Linked DNA regions of Homo sapiens: all the other regions are linked to region 4. The links are contacts of gene promoters, found by promoter capture Hi-C in blood cells and fetal thymus (Javierre and others, 2016). All regions are on one chromosome and are shown on one strand. The core of a region is centred on a gene start or on the middle of the fragment in contact, and the rest is flanking DNA. Distances in the headings are between cores, read along the strand shown.

Evidence for each region. The method cuts DNA at HindIII sites, captures the fragments that hold promoters and counts their contacts. A CHiCAGO score of 5 or more calls a contact.
Region 1: a contact is called between a fragment that was not itself captured here and the fragment with the promoter of EPM2AIP1 in region 4, in 4 of 17 cell types (total CD4 T cells, naive CD4 T cells, activated CD4 T cells and 1 more). The highest score is 8.1, in total CD4 T cells.
Region 2: a fragment that was not itself captured here is called in contact with the fragment with the promoter of EPM2AIP1 in region 4 in 1 of 17 cell types (total CD8 T cells); the score reaches 5.8 in total CD8 T cells.
Region 3: a contact is called between a fragment that was not itself captured here and the fragment with the promoter of EPM2AIP1 in region 4, in 1 of 17 cell types (total CD8 T cells). The highest score is 5.4, in total CD8 T cells.

The regions. Positions count from the first base shown.
Region 1 is chr3:69,081,563-69,084,262 of GRCh38, reverse strand. No RefSeq gene overlaps it. Among named protein-coding and RNA genes, the nearest start is that of ARL6IP5, 2.0 kb to the left of the region's middle. RefSeq lists enhancers at 1,163-1,322, 2,127-2,186. The HindIII fragment of the contact is 2,467 bases long and covers 173-2,639 here.
Region 2 is chr3:69,025,974-69,028,823 of GRCh38, reverse strand. TMF1 (TATA element modulatory factor 1) reads left to right here. Exons shown (of 17, transcript NM_007114.3): 12 at 529-598; 13 at 832-924; 14 at 2,727-2,828. Among named protein-coding and RNA genes, the nearest start is that of EOGT, 14 kb to the right of the region's middle. The HindIII fragment of the contact is 1,042 bases long and covers 1,023-2,064 here.
Region 3 is chr3:63,974,232-63,976,931 of GRCh38, reverse strand. All of the region lies in intron 5 of ATXN7 (ataxin 7), which reads right to left. Among named protein-coding and RNA genes, the nearest start is that of PSMD6-AS2, 28 kb to the left of the region's middle. The HindIII fragment of the contact is 254 bases long and covers 1,230-1,483 here.
Region 4 is chr3:36,991,745-36,994,444 of GRCh38, reverse strand. EPM2AIP1 (EPM2A interacting protein 1) reads left to right here and starts at 1,314. Exons shown (of 1, transcript NM_014805.4): 1 at 1,314-2,700. The coding sequence starts at 1,368. It overlaps MLH1 (mutL homolog 1), which reads right to left and starts at 927. Exons shown (of 19, transcript NM_000249.4): 1 at 782-927. The coding sequence starts at 897. RefSeq lists enhancers at 226-737, 654-873, 1,244-1,593, 1,714-2,033, 2,064-2,143. The HindIII fragment of the contact is 4,668 bases long and covers 443-2,700 here.

The sequences.
Region 1 (2,700 bases), core at 157-2,656, about 32 Mb before region 4:
TTTTCTGGGCAGAAATATGCATTCCACTTCAAAAGTTTTCTTAGTTTTATTGCAATATTTGGTGACAGCTTTCACTGAGGGACCACAATATATTCATAGATAACGTGATGTTTTGTATCCCAGCCCAAAGACCTGGCAAAAGAAGTATTCGTTGTCAATTCTCTTCTAAGCTTCCAAGGGTCATCTTTTTTCAGTTAAGGGGCTGATTGGTACAATGCATGAGAAAAAAAGTAGTTTGTTTAATTGTATAATGTAATAGGTAGAATTCTAAGGTGAAGATTTCTAAGATAACAGAGTCTCTAAGCCCCTAAGTGGCTTAGACAAGGTGAATTCACTCTACTCAGATCACCAATTTTTGAAAACTTGGAAAGTAATGAAATATACTAATGCAAAGTCTAGAAAACATAATTTAATTTTCCTTATTAATTCAGAAGACAGTTAAGGAGCTTACAGCGACTCTAAGAAATTACTACTACTACTGTTGTTTAGGAAAATTTGGTGATTGCATGGAATTAGTGCTAAGATATATCTTATGTGCTGCTTTTTGAATAAAGTTTAAAATGTGAAAATATTCCTGAGTGCTCATGTTTTCTTGATTCTGGAAAAATGGGATGGTGTGAAGTCAGAGAAAGCAAAATTAGAGTCGCAGCTCCTTCCTCTCTGGCAGGTGACTTTGGAGAAACTACTTAATCTCTCCCAGCCTCGGTGTCTTCATGTGTAAAGTGGGGATAATGGAACATCTGCCATATAGACGAGGCTAAGTGAAGGAATGTATAGGAAATGCTTAGTGTATAATAAAGGTTCACAGTTATATGTTACTATTATTGTTATTAGCAATAGGATAGCCCACGATTCTTGTTTGCTATTAATAGTGCTTTAATCTGATTTGTTTTCTATGCTTTCATTATAAACATCTACTAACTTTTCTCTACCTTGCTCCAACTTTATTGTTGTGGATGTATCTGGGTAGGGGGAAAAGGTTGAGAATATTCAGTACAATGCCAGCAAGTATTTCGAGTTCTTTTGAGGCTCTGTGAAAGCACTGTGGGTTTTTTTTCTTTTCTTTTCTTTTTTTTTTTAAAGAGGAGAAAAATGTAATCCTGCTCTGCCTTCAAAACTTCTGCAATCCAGTGGAAACACTAGTTAAATATGAGACAGTAAGAGGAGTGCTAAATAGAGATGCACTGAGCCTCAGTGCTCAGTTACAGGAAGTCAGAGGGTGTGGAGGAATTCCCCAGGGCTTCAGAATGTCAAGAGGCAGCACTGTGGGCAAGCTGAGTAAATCATCTTGGTCAAGATGAGAGTGGGAACTCCAGTGGGGCCCCACACTGTTGGTGAGATTTATGAGTATTAGAAGCTGTAACTAAGAACTTTATCTTCCAACTGCTCAGAACTGCATGACCAAAAGCTGTCAAGAGTGTATTAGTAACAATATGATTACTCCTTGATCACAGGCAATTGATACCCAAGAAAGAATTAAACCTCTTTAGAGGTTTAAACATAAATAAATAAATTCTGAAAAGACAGAGAAAGCTGTTTATAGCATGATTCCCTTCTGTCTCCCTCCCAAAATGTTAACCCTGTCTCTCTCTTTGGGGTATGGGAGATTTTTTTTTTCTCTAAATATTTCTACCTTTGTTAAATTATTTTAAATAAAAATGAACATGTAATGAGTCATTACTTTTTTCCAGTAACTGTTTGAAATGCTATTAGTAGCAGCTCTTTGTTAGTGTTCATTCCGGGGAGGGAGGGGTCAGATTCACTGTAGAGGTCTTTCTGGAGCTTTAATTTATTATTATTTTTAGAGACAGGGTCTCACTATGTTGCCCAGGCTGGTTTTAAACTCCTGGGCTCAAACAGTCCTCCCACCTCAGCCTCCCAAGTAGCCGGGACTACAGGTGTGGGAAGCCGAGCCCTGCTTGATGGGGCTTTTATAATGGGACTGGTGTGTCTAGATAGGACCATTCAGACTATCTGTCTGTTTAAAAACCATAGCAGATAGTCTAATTGTTTATGATATGTTCCATTTGAAGTAAAATAAATCTGTTGAAGGTTTTGCTTGCATGTCTCTGTTGCTTTCATTCCTGGCAAGGGCAGATGGCTATTTCTAATCCGTCAATCAATCTAAGCCAGTGAGAGTGCCTGGTGTCGTTTATCAAAATACCACCATGGTGAGTCAGGCTGTTAGTCTCAAAGCAAGCAGATGCAGGGCCAGATACCTTTGCAGACTTCTTCATCGGCTAGCTGTACTCTATCCCTAGGCCTCAGTTTCCTCCCCTGTGAAATGGGTGAGACTGGACTAGGTGGCCTTTAAGGTGACTGCTGCTTTTCACTATCTGAGAGGGTTGCAATGCTCACTACCACTAATCAAAGGGTATCCAGTATTGTTGGGGGTTCAGGCTACAGGAGCCCATTTTGATAAGCACTGAGGTTAAATCCTCAGTGAAACCATCTGTGGAGTTGTCTGGGCAAGAAAAAGTAGTTTCATAGTTGACGCTGAGACATGTGATGCAGAAGGAGGCTGGTATCTCTTGATAGGGACTGTGAACTCTATTCCCACGCTCACTGCCTGGCATTGACTTTCAGCTCAGTGAATGCTATTGAACTGAACCTAATTGGGGGACCATAAAGGACAAGCTTTCCTTAAGGTTCACTGAAAACTAGGACAAGAGGAGGTTAAATATCACAGTGTAGTAACAG
Region 2 (2,850 bases), core at 294-2,793, about 32 Mb before region 4:
TTTAAGTCTTTTCTAAATAAATTTCTGGGTTCTTGGAAACCATGGGGTGTAAAATCCATCTATCTGAGATTATATTAAGGCAATGGTTAGTATTTTTTAACCCTCTGTTCTTCCTTGGAAATTTTACTTTTTAAAAAAATGTCAAGTAAAAATGATTTCTAAAGTAAAATATCTGAACTTTTAGAAACATTTTCATAGAACTCCCTAATAAGCTTTGTGGAATCTGAGCATATTATAGGATGATGGTACTCAAAATTATTTTTATAAAGTCTCTTTTTAAATGAAATCTTAACCCAGAGCACCAATAAATAAAATGCACAGAAGTGGAGCTTTTTCACTTTTGGTTTGGTTTCTGAGTGAAACTCAGATGGGATCTGGAACACACTGTTGGAAAATCACTGATGTCAAGCTGGTAATAAAAATGATTTCTCAATATGTAGCTGGAGTTAATAAAGTACTGAGTTTTTAATAGTCTATACTAGCATCTTTTTCATTTTCTGTTTTTTTAAATTCTGCCTTGTTTAATAGGTACCAGGTTGAATTGGAAAACCTAAAAGATGAATATGTAAGAACACTTGAAGAGACGAGGAAAGAAAAGGTATTTCTCTTCGTGACCACTCAGCTCTTAGGGCATACATTAGAGAATGGTTGGGGATGGCAGCAAATTAATGAGATAACAAGATGAAATGGGTGATGCCACTGCTTTTGGAACTTGGTCTTTAGTAGGAAAACAAATATGAGTTTATACTTTATGCTTCTAACTTTGAGATTGACTTATCATGGCATGAATTACTATCACAGAAATTGTCTAACTTTATTTCTCTCTATTAGACATTGTTGAATAGTCAGTTAGAAATGGAAAGAATGAAAGTTGAACAAGAAAGGAAGAAAGCCATTTTTACTCAAGAAACAATAAAAGAAAAGGTATTGAATTTTGTTTTTGTTTGTTTGTGGTGTAACCATTTAGTAGATGCTGTGATTAATCATTGCTTTTTAATTTTAGCTATGCTTTATAACAAGCTTGTCCAACCTGTGGCCCTGGTTGGCATGTGGCCCAGGATGATTTTGAATGAAGCCCAACACAAATTTGCAAACTTTCTTAAATCATCATGAGATTTTTTTCATGATTTTTTTTTTTTTTTTTAGTTCATCAGCTATTGTTAGTATATTTTATGTGTGGCCCAAGACAATTCTTGTTCTTCAAATGAGGCCCAGGGAACCAAAAGATTGGACATCCCTGCTTTATAAGTATCATTTTTTTAATGTCTAAAATCAACATAGTGATGAATTCTAGTATTATAATCAGTGTCCTGCTCAGAGTGGACCCAAAGTAATTTTGAGTTTATCCAAAGAGATCTATGATTTCTAGGACTTGAAATATAAAACCTCTTGCCCTTTTTAAAAATGAATTTAATTGTCTGTCACTGAAACCAGTGCACATCATTTGGTCTATAGGCACTTAAGGAGTAAGTCTGGCTTGTTTTCTTTCTGGTTAATGAGGGTAATTTTTCTGAAATGAGTTTTCTGAGGCTGAGCATGGGGACTCACATCTGTAATCCCAGCACTTTGAGAGGCTGAGGTAGGTGGATCACTTGAGGCTAAGAGTTCAAGACCAGCCTGGCCAACATGGCAAAACCCCATCTCTACTAAAAATACAAAAATTAGCCGGGCATGGTGGCATGTGCCTGTAATCCCAGCTACTCGGGAGGCAGAGGTGGGAGAATTGCTTGAACCCGGGAGGCGGAGGCTGCAGTGAGCCGAGATCGCATCACTGCATTCCAGCCTGGGCAACAGATCGAGACTCTTTCTCAAAAAAATAAAAATAAATAAATAAATAAAAATGAGTTTTCTGTATTGAAAGAATTACCGTGTACTTGGAGTTAGCATAATATATTTAAACTACCGATAGGTAAATTTAAATTACCTATTGAATTTATTTGGAATTTTAAGAATACATTAAAAATAAAATGGATAAGCCAGAAATTTTATGATTTGTAACACTCATTAGTAATTTTATGTTACAGAAATAGGTTTAATTGATAGTATATTGTATAATATGAAGCTTAACAGAAACATTCTTATTCTATTATAAAAACCCAACAAATTACATTGTTGTAATAAATGGGTTCTGTGATGATCTAACCAAGTCTAGCTACAGTTTTAATTAGTAAATATTGTACTTTTTTTTTGTTTGTTTGTTTTGGAGACTGAGTTTTACTCTTATTGCCCAGGCTGGAGTGTAGTGGTGCTATCTCAGCTCACCGCCACCTCCACCGCTATCTCGGCTCACCGCAACCTCACCTCCCAGGTTCAAGCGATTCTGCCTCAGCCTCCCGAGTAGCTGGGATTACAGGCATGCGCCACCACGCCCAGCTAATTTTGTATTTTTAGTAGAGACGAGGTTTTTCCATGTTAGTCAAGTTGGTCTTGATCTCCCAACCTCAGGTGATCCACCCTCCTTGGCCTCCCAAAGTGCTGGGATTACAGGCATAAGCCACCATGCCTGGCCAAATATTGTATTTTTGACTTAAGAAGCCATTTTATGGGGAAATTAGAATGAATCTTAAAAAAGTTTTTTTTCTTCTTTTGATTGTATTGAATTCCTTTGTAGTGTGGCTTTTTTAAAAGACTGAATCTTTGTTCTCATTAACCCTAGGAAATGTTCTTGCTTTCTCTGCTTATCTCTTTGCTCTTTAATATGAACAGAATTTTTTTTACTCCCTAAGGAACGCAAGCCATTTTCTGTTTCTAGCACTCCCACCATGTCACGCTCAAGTTCAATAAGTGGTGTTGATATGGCAGGACTACAGACATCTTTTCTGTCTCAGGTGATGTTTTATTTTTTATATG
Region 3 (2,700 bases), core at 107-2,606, about 27 Mb before region 4:
CCATGTTTATTCTAGTATTTATGTATTTTTTTACCATTTAACATTTGTAAGACTGTGCTACCCTTTTCATTAGGTTCCTATGTTTTTCTGTGTGTGTCACTGATGAGGTCTTTGAGTGTTGTGCCATAACCCTGTTTTCCCAATAAGCCTCATGTGGTTTTTGTTGCGTAATTTTGCATTGTGCAGTAATTTTTTAGGAATGCATGTTGTGCTATAGCAGAACTGACTGTAACTTTAAGCTTGTCCTTTCAATTTTCCATTCCCATCACTGTCCATCCTCCCCGTTTTCTTTGGTTAAAATCTTCTTTTCTTGCCTATTAACTCTTAATATGGAATTCCACTAGAAAAATCAAGGTTCAAAGCTTCTTAAGTTAAAAGTCTGCTGATGTATCGATAATATCCCAAAAAAGTCTATTTTCTACTTCAATAACAATAAAAACTATTTAAAAACTAAGAATGACAATCTATCATGTGAATTTTTCATTCATTAAAACTTGAAACAGATTGTGTGTGTGTAGTGTGTGTAAGTAACTGAGATTCTGGCTGAAAAGTGCCAGCTCAAATTCTTGTCATGCTACTGAATTATCACGGACTGGTAACTTACTCTGTGAAAAGGACAGCATCTGGCTTTCCCCCCACAAGAAAGCAAGAAGGAAAAACCAAATTTATTGTAGTTGAGTTGGACTCCCCTTATCCTTTCACTGAGCTCTTATTTTTCACAGGATTTTAAACTGGGCATCTAGCTCTAAAAAAGTGTTTGCTCCCAGATCAGAAGAGAAGTGGGCAAATTATAGGTGGGGTTAGGGACCCTATATTAAGTGGACAAAGTGGTGGCCAGATGCTGAGCACAACTGCAATGTGGTCTGCTGAGGAGTCCAAGTTGAGTTTTCAAAGCGCTCCTCTCTCCAGGATCTGGCACCAGCCCAGAGAAAGCACACTCTGTCCCTGAATGAGGAGGGCATGATGAATGGCTCCAGTAAGGGAGAGACAGGCCGACTGACAGACAAGTACAGACACAAGAAAAGAGCAGAGACAAAGAAAGACAAACATGCCTAAGTGTGTATGTGTGTGTTGTGCTGGGGAGAAGAGAGGGAGACAGAGCTTCATGGGGCTCTTTCCCCTTGTGGCTTCAGTACGTCACATGGCAAGGACAGGATATTAGTAGTGGTGTAGGAGGGTGGACAGCTCTCTATAGGTCTTCCAAAATAGAATGCAACCAATACTAAGCTTATAATTCTGAATTCACGCTGAGATTTTTTTAAAGTTATAAGTATTAACATCCAGGTACACACCAAAAAGGAGTTCAAAGCAAATAATTAGATCTTTTTATATCATAAATATTGCTTTGAAAACAACTAAAAATAATTTACAGTGAGCAACTGTCAAAATTAGGGCACAAATCTAAAAAGCAGTCAAAACAAAATGTAACTCCAAATGCTAACATTCATACTCGAAAATAATCTAGAAGGATATATGTCAAGCTTTTTAAAAAGTGGTTATTCCCAGGATTATGGCTCTATTTTTTAAAACATTTGTGTATTGTTTTTCTATAATGAATACAGTTTACTTGGTTATCAAATACATACTTCTAAAGAAGAAAAATTTGGTGTTCTGGTTTCAATTTTACACATGCCAAAATAAAGCAAGGCATACTATCATTCCTGAGCATAGTATCAATTTGTCCCATTCTCAACGGGTATCATGCAAGTGGCTAACTACTAAGAAACCCCCACAGAACCTGAATTAAATATCTTCAGTTCTGCTATAAAGCTTGTTTTGAGAATGAAAATGCATTCCAAAGCCACCGATATACTAAGAAACAATTCGAACATGTTGAAATTTTGCATTTACTTTTTCATGATTTTTGTCTGTAAGAAATACTAGGTGAACACAGAAAACTGTAACTGGCTGAAATGAGCCATGTGGGAAGATTCAAAATGTACACCCTCAAACTTCTACCATCTACCTCAGTTCACCACCACGTGTATTATTAACCACACCCAAACACATCTGATGCTACAATTTTTCATTCAATTTCAGATAACCTCCTTCCACCATCTCATGGTAACTCACAAGCTGCAACCCTTCCCATACCCTTTATTCAGGGCTCTTTTCTTATAACTTATTAAACATTTTACTAATCTTTTATAATCCAAACAACTGGCTGATGAGAAATCTCACCTTCAAGAACAACAACATCAACAACAGCTGCTACTGTGTACTGTGTAGAAACCACATGCCAGGCACCATGCTACGGGATTTACATGGATTATCTCATTCAATCCTGACCATCTTTCTAACAAAGTAGATACTATTATTAACCTCACTTTCCAGATGAGGAAGCCAAGGCTTTTAAAGGACTCAAGTCAGTTGTCCAACATCACATGGTTACTTAAGAGGCAAAGATGGGTGCAATCCCAGGCAGGCTGACTCCAGCACCTGGGTGAAAGCACAAGGCAACTTGCCTGCTCTGAAATGGCATTATTAGCAAGTCATAATACATGATGGAGGGGCAGGGATAAAGGTGAGGGCTGGGGCATAAATCAGTAAGAAGCCCATCTTCCCTAAGTGCTGGGCAAAATCAGGTTGTTAGTGTACAAGTCTGCATAGGCTGAACATTTGTCATCGATGACAGTTTTTTGGTATATTCAGGGTGGGATCCAGAATATGTTTAAGGGAAATCCAGATTGTTTTCGATTT
Region 4 (2,700 bases), core at 65-2,564:
ACGGACGTCACTAACAACTGATTTTAACAAAATAATCTGACATAACGTTTAGGTGTATTTTGGGCTTGTCTTTTTGGAAGTTTATAGTCTGCACTCACTTTTCCTTCCACATGTTTCAAATCTCTTCCCTTCACATTTTTTGTCACAGTTATAAGCTTCAAAATCCAAGGATGACCCATAAAATCTGGTATCTTCGAAGTGCGTCCTCCGAAATAAAGGACAGGAAAACACTAAGAGGGGTCACTAATTTAACAATAGGGTAATCAGAAGTCAAGCCCAAAGTGCATCAGCCTGTCCTAAAACTACAAACGATTTGTTTTGAAAGAAACTCAAAATGAATTGTGCCTTTGGATGTGAACAGATGATTTCTGGAATGAATGAAAAGCAAGAAAACAGTAACACAGTACCCTCTGAAAAAAGGTTTTTCTCCCCATCTTAAGCTTTTATACATCTTTTAACTTCGCATGTTCTGCATACATAATTTTAAATTAAGTGGCTTCCTTACTTAGTTAACGGTACCATTAAGACAACACTACGTATATTCCTCCACTTACACTCCAAACAACCCTTAAAAGGTCTCGGGGGAGAGCGGTAAAGAAACACACGGTCTGCGGAAAAGGAGAAGGCCTGACTGGCACGTCAGGGAACCCGGCGGCCTCCGCCGTTGTGGGCATGCGCTGTACATGCCTCTGCCCGGGCAAAGAGGCGTGTCCGCGCCATTGAGTGACGCGGCCCGTTAAGTCGTAGCCCTTAAGTGAGCCCGGCTCGACTCCCTCCGTACCAGTTCTCAATCATCTCTTTGATAGCATTAGCTGGCCGCTGGATAACTTCCCCCGCCGCGATGCGGTTCACCACTGTCTCGTCCAGCCGCCGAATAACCCCTGCCACGAACGACATTTTGGCGCCAGAAGAGCCAAGGAAACGTCTAGATGCTCAACGGAAGTGCCTTCAGCCAATCACCTCAGTGCCTCGTGCTCACGTTCTTCCTTCAGCTGTAGCTTACGCCATCCAGCCCCACCCTTCAGCGGCAGCTATTGATTGGACAGCTTGAATGCCAGTCAAATTTCTCAACTCTGTGGGTTGCTGGGTCTCTTCGTCCCTCCCTGAAGCGGCTACTGCCCGCTACCTAGAAGGATATGCGCTTGCGCGTTAGAGATCGCTGTCCGCTCTTCCTATTGGTTCGTTTTTAGGAGCTCGGGGAATACGAAATATCCAGCCAATAGGAGCAGAGATGCCGGAACCGGGCTTGTGTGCCTCTGCTGAGGTGATCTGGCGCAGAGCGGAGGAGGTGCTTGGCGCTTCTCAGGCTCCTCCTCTCCCCTTGCGGCCTTTCTAACGTTGGCCCTGCTCTTGTGGCCTCCCGCAGAATGTGGATGACGCCCAAAAGAAGCAAGATGGAAGTCGACGAGGCTCTAGTTTTCCGGCCCGAGTGGACCCAGCGTTATTTGGTGGTGGAGCCTCCGGAGGGCGATGGGGCCCTGTGCCTGGTCTGTCGCCGCCTCATCGTAGCTACCCGCGAACGCGACGTCAGGCGCCACTACGAGGCTGAGCACGAATACTACGAGCGGTATGTGGCGGACGGCGAGCGCGCGGCCCTGGTGGAGCGTCTGCGTCAGGGCGACTTGCCCGTGGCCTCCTTCACTCCTGAAGAGAGAGCTGCTCGTGCAGGCCTCGGGCTCTGCCGCCTCTTGGCCTTGAAGGGTCGCGGCTGGGGTGAGGGGGACTTTGTATACCAGTGCATGGAGGTGTTGCTGAGAGAGGTACTGCCCGAGCATGTAAGCGTCCTGCAAGGCGTTGACTTATCTCCAGATATCACAAGGCAGAGGATCCTGAGCATTGACAGGAATCTACGCAACCAGCTTTTTAACCGAGCCAGGGACTTTAAAGCCTATTCTCTTGCCTTGGACGACCAGGCTTTTGTGGCCTATGAGAACTACCTCCTGGTCTTTATCCGCGGTGTAGGCCCTGAGTTGGAGGTGCAAGAAGATCTTCTGACCATAATCAACCTGACTCATCATTTCAGTGTTGGTGCGCTCATGTCGGCAATCCTAGAGTCCCTGCAGACAGCAGGGCTTAGCTTGCAGAGAATGGTTGGACTGACCACGACCCATACTTTGAGGATGATTGGTGAGAACTCAGGACTCGTCTCATACATGAGAGAAAAGGCCGTAAGCCCCAACTGTTGGAATGTCATTCATTATTCAGGATTTCTTCACTTGGAACTGTTGAGCTCCTATGATGTAGATGTTAATCAGATCATAAATACCATATCCGAATGGATAGTTTTGATTAAGACCAGAGGCGTTAGGCGACCTGAATTTCAGACTTTACTAACGGAATCTGAATCAGAGCATGGTGAAAGGGTTAATGGACGATGTCTGAACAATTGGCTTAGGAGAGGGAAAACTTTAAAACTAATATTCTCTCTAAGAAAAGAAATGGAAGCGTTCTTGGTTTCAGTAGGGGCAACAACAGTCCACTTCTCAGACAAACAATGGCTTTGTGACTTTGGCTTCTTGGTGGACATTATGGAACACCTTCGAGAACTCAGTGAAGAATTACGAGTTAGTAAAGTCTTTGCTGCTGCTGCCTTTGACCATATTTGTACTTTCGAAGTTAAGCTGAATTTATTTCAAAGACATATTGAGGAAAAAAATCTAACAGACTTTCCTGCCCTCAGAGAAGTTGTTGATGAGCTAA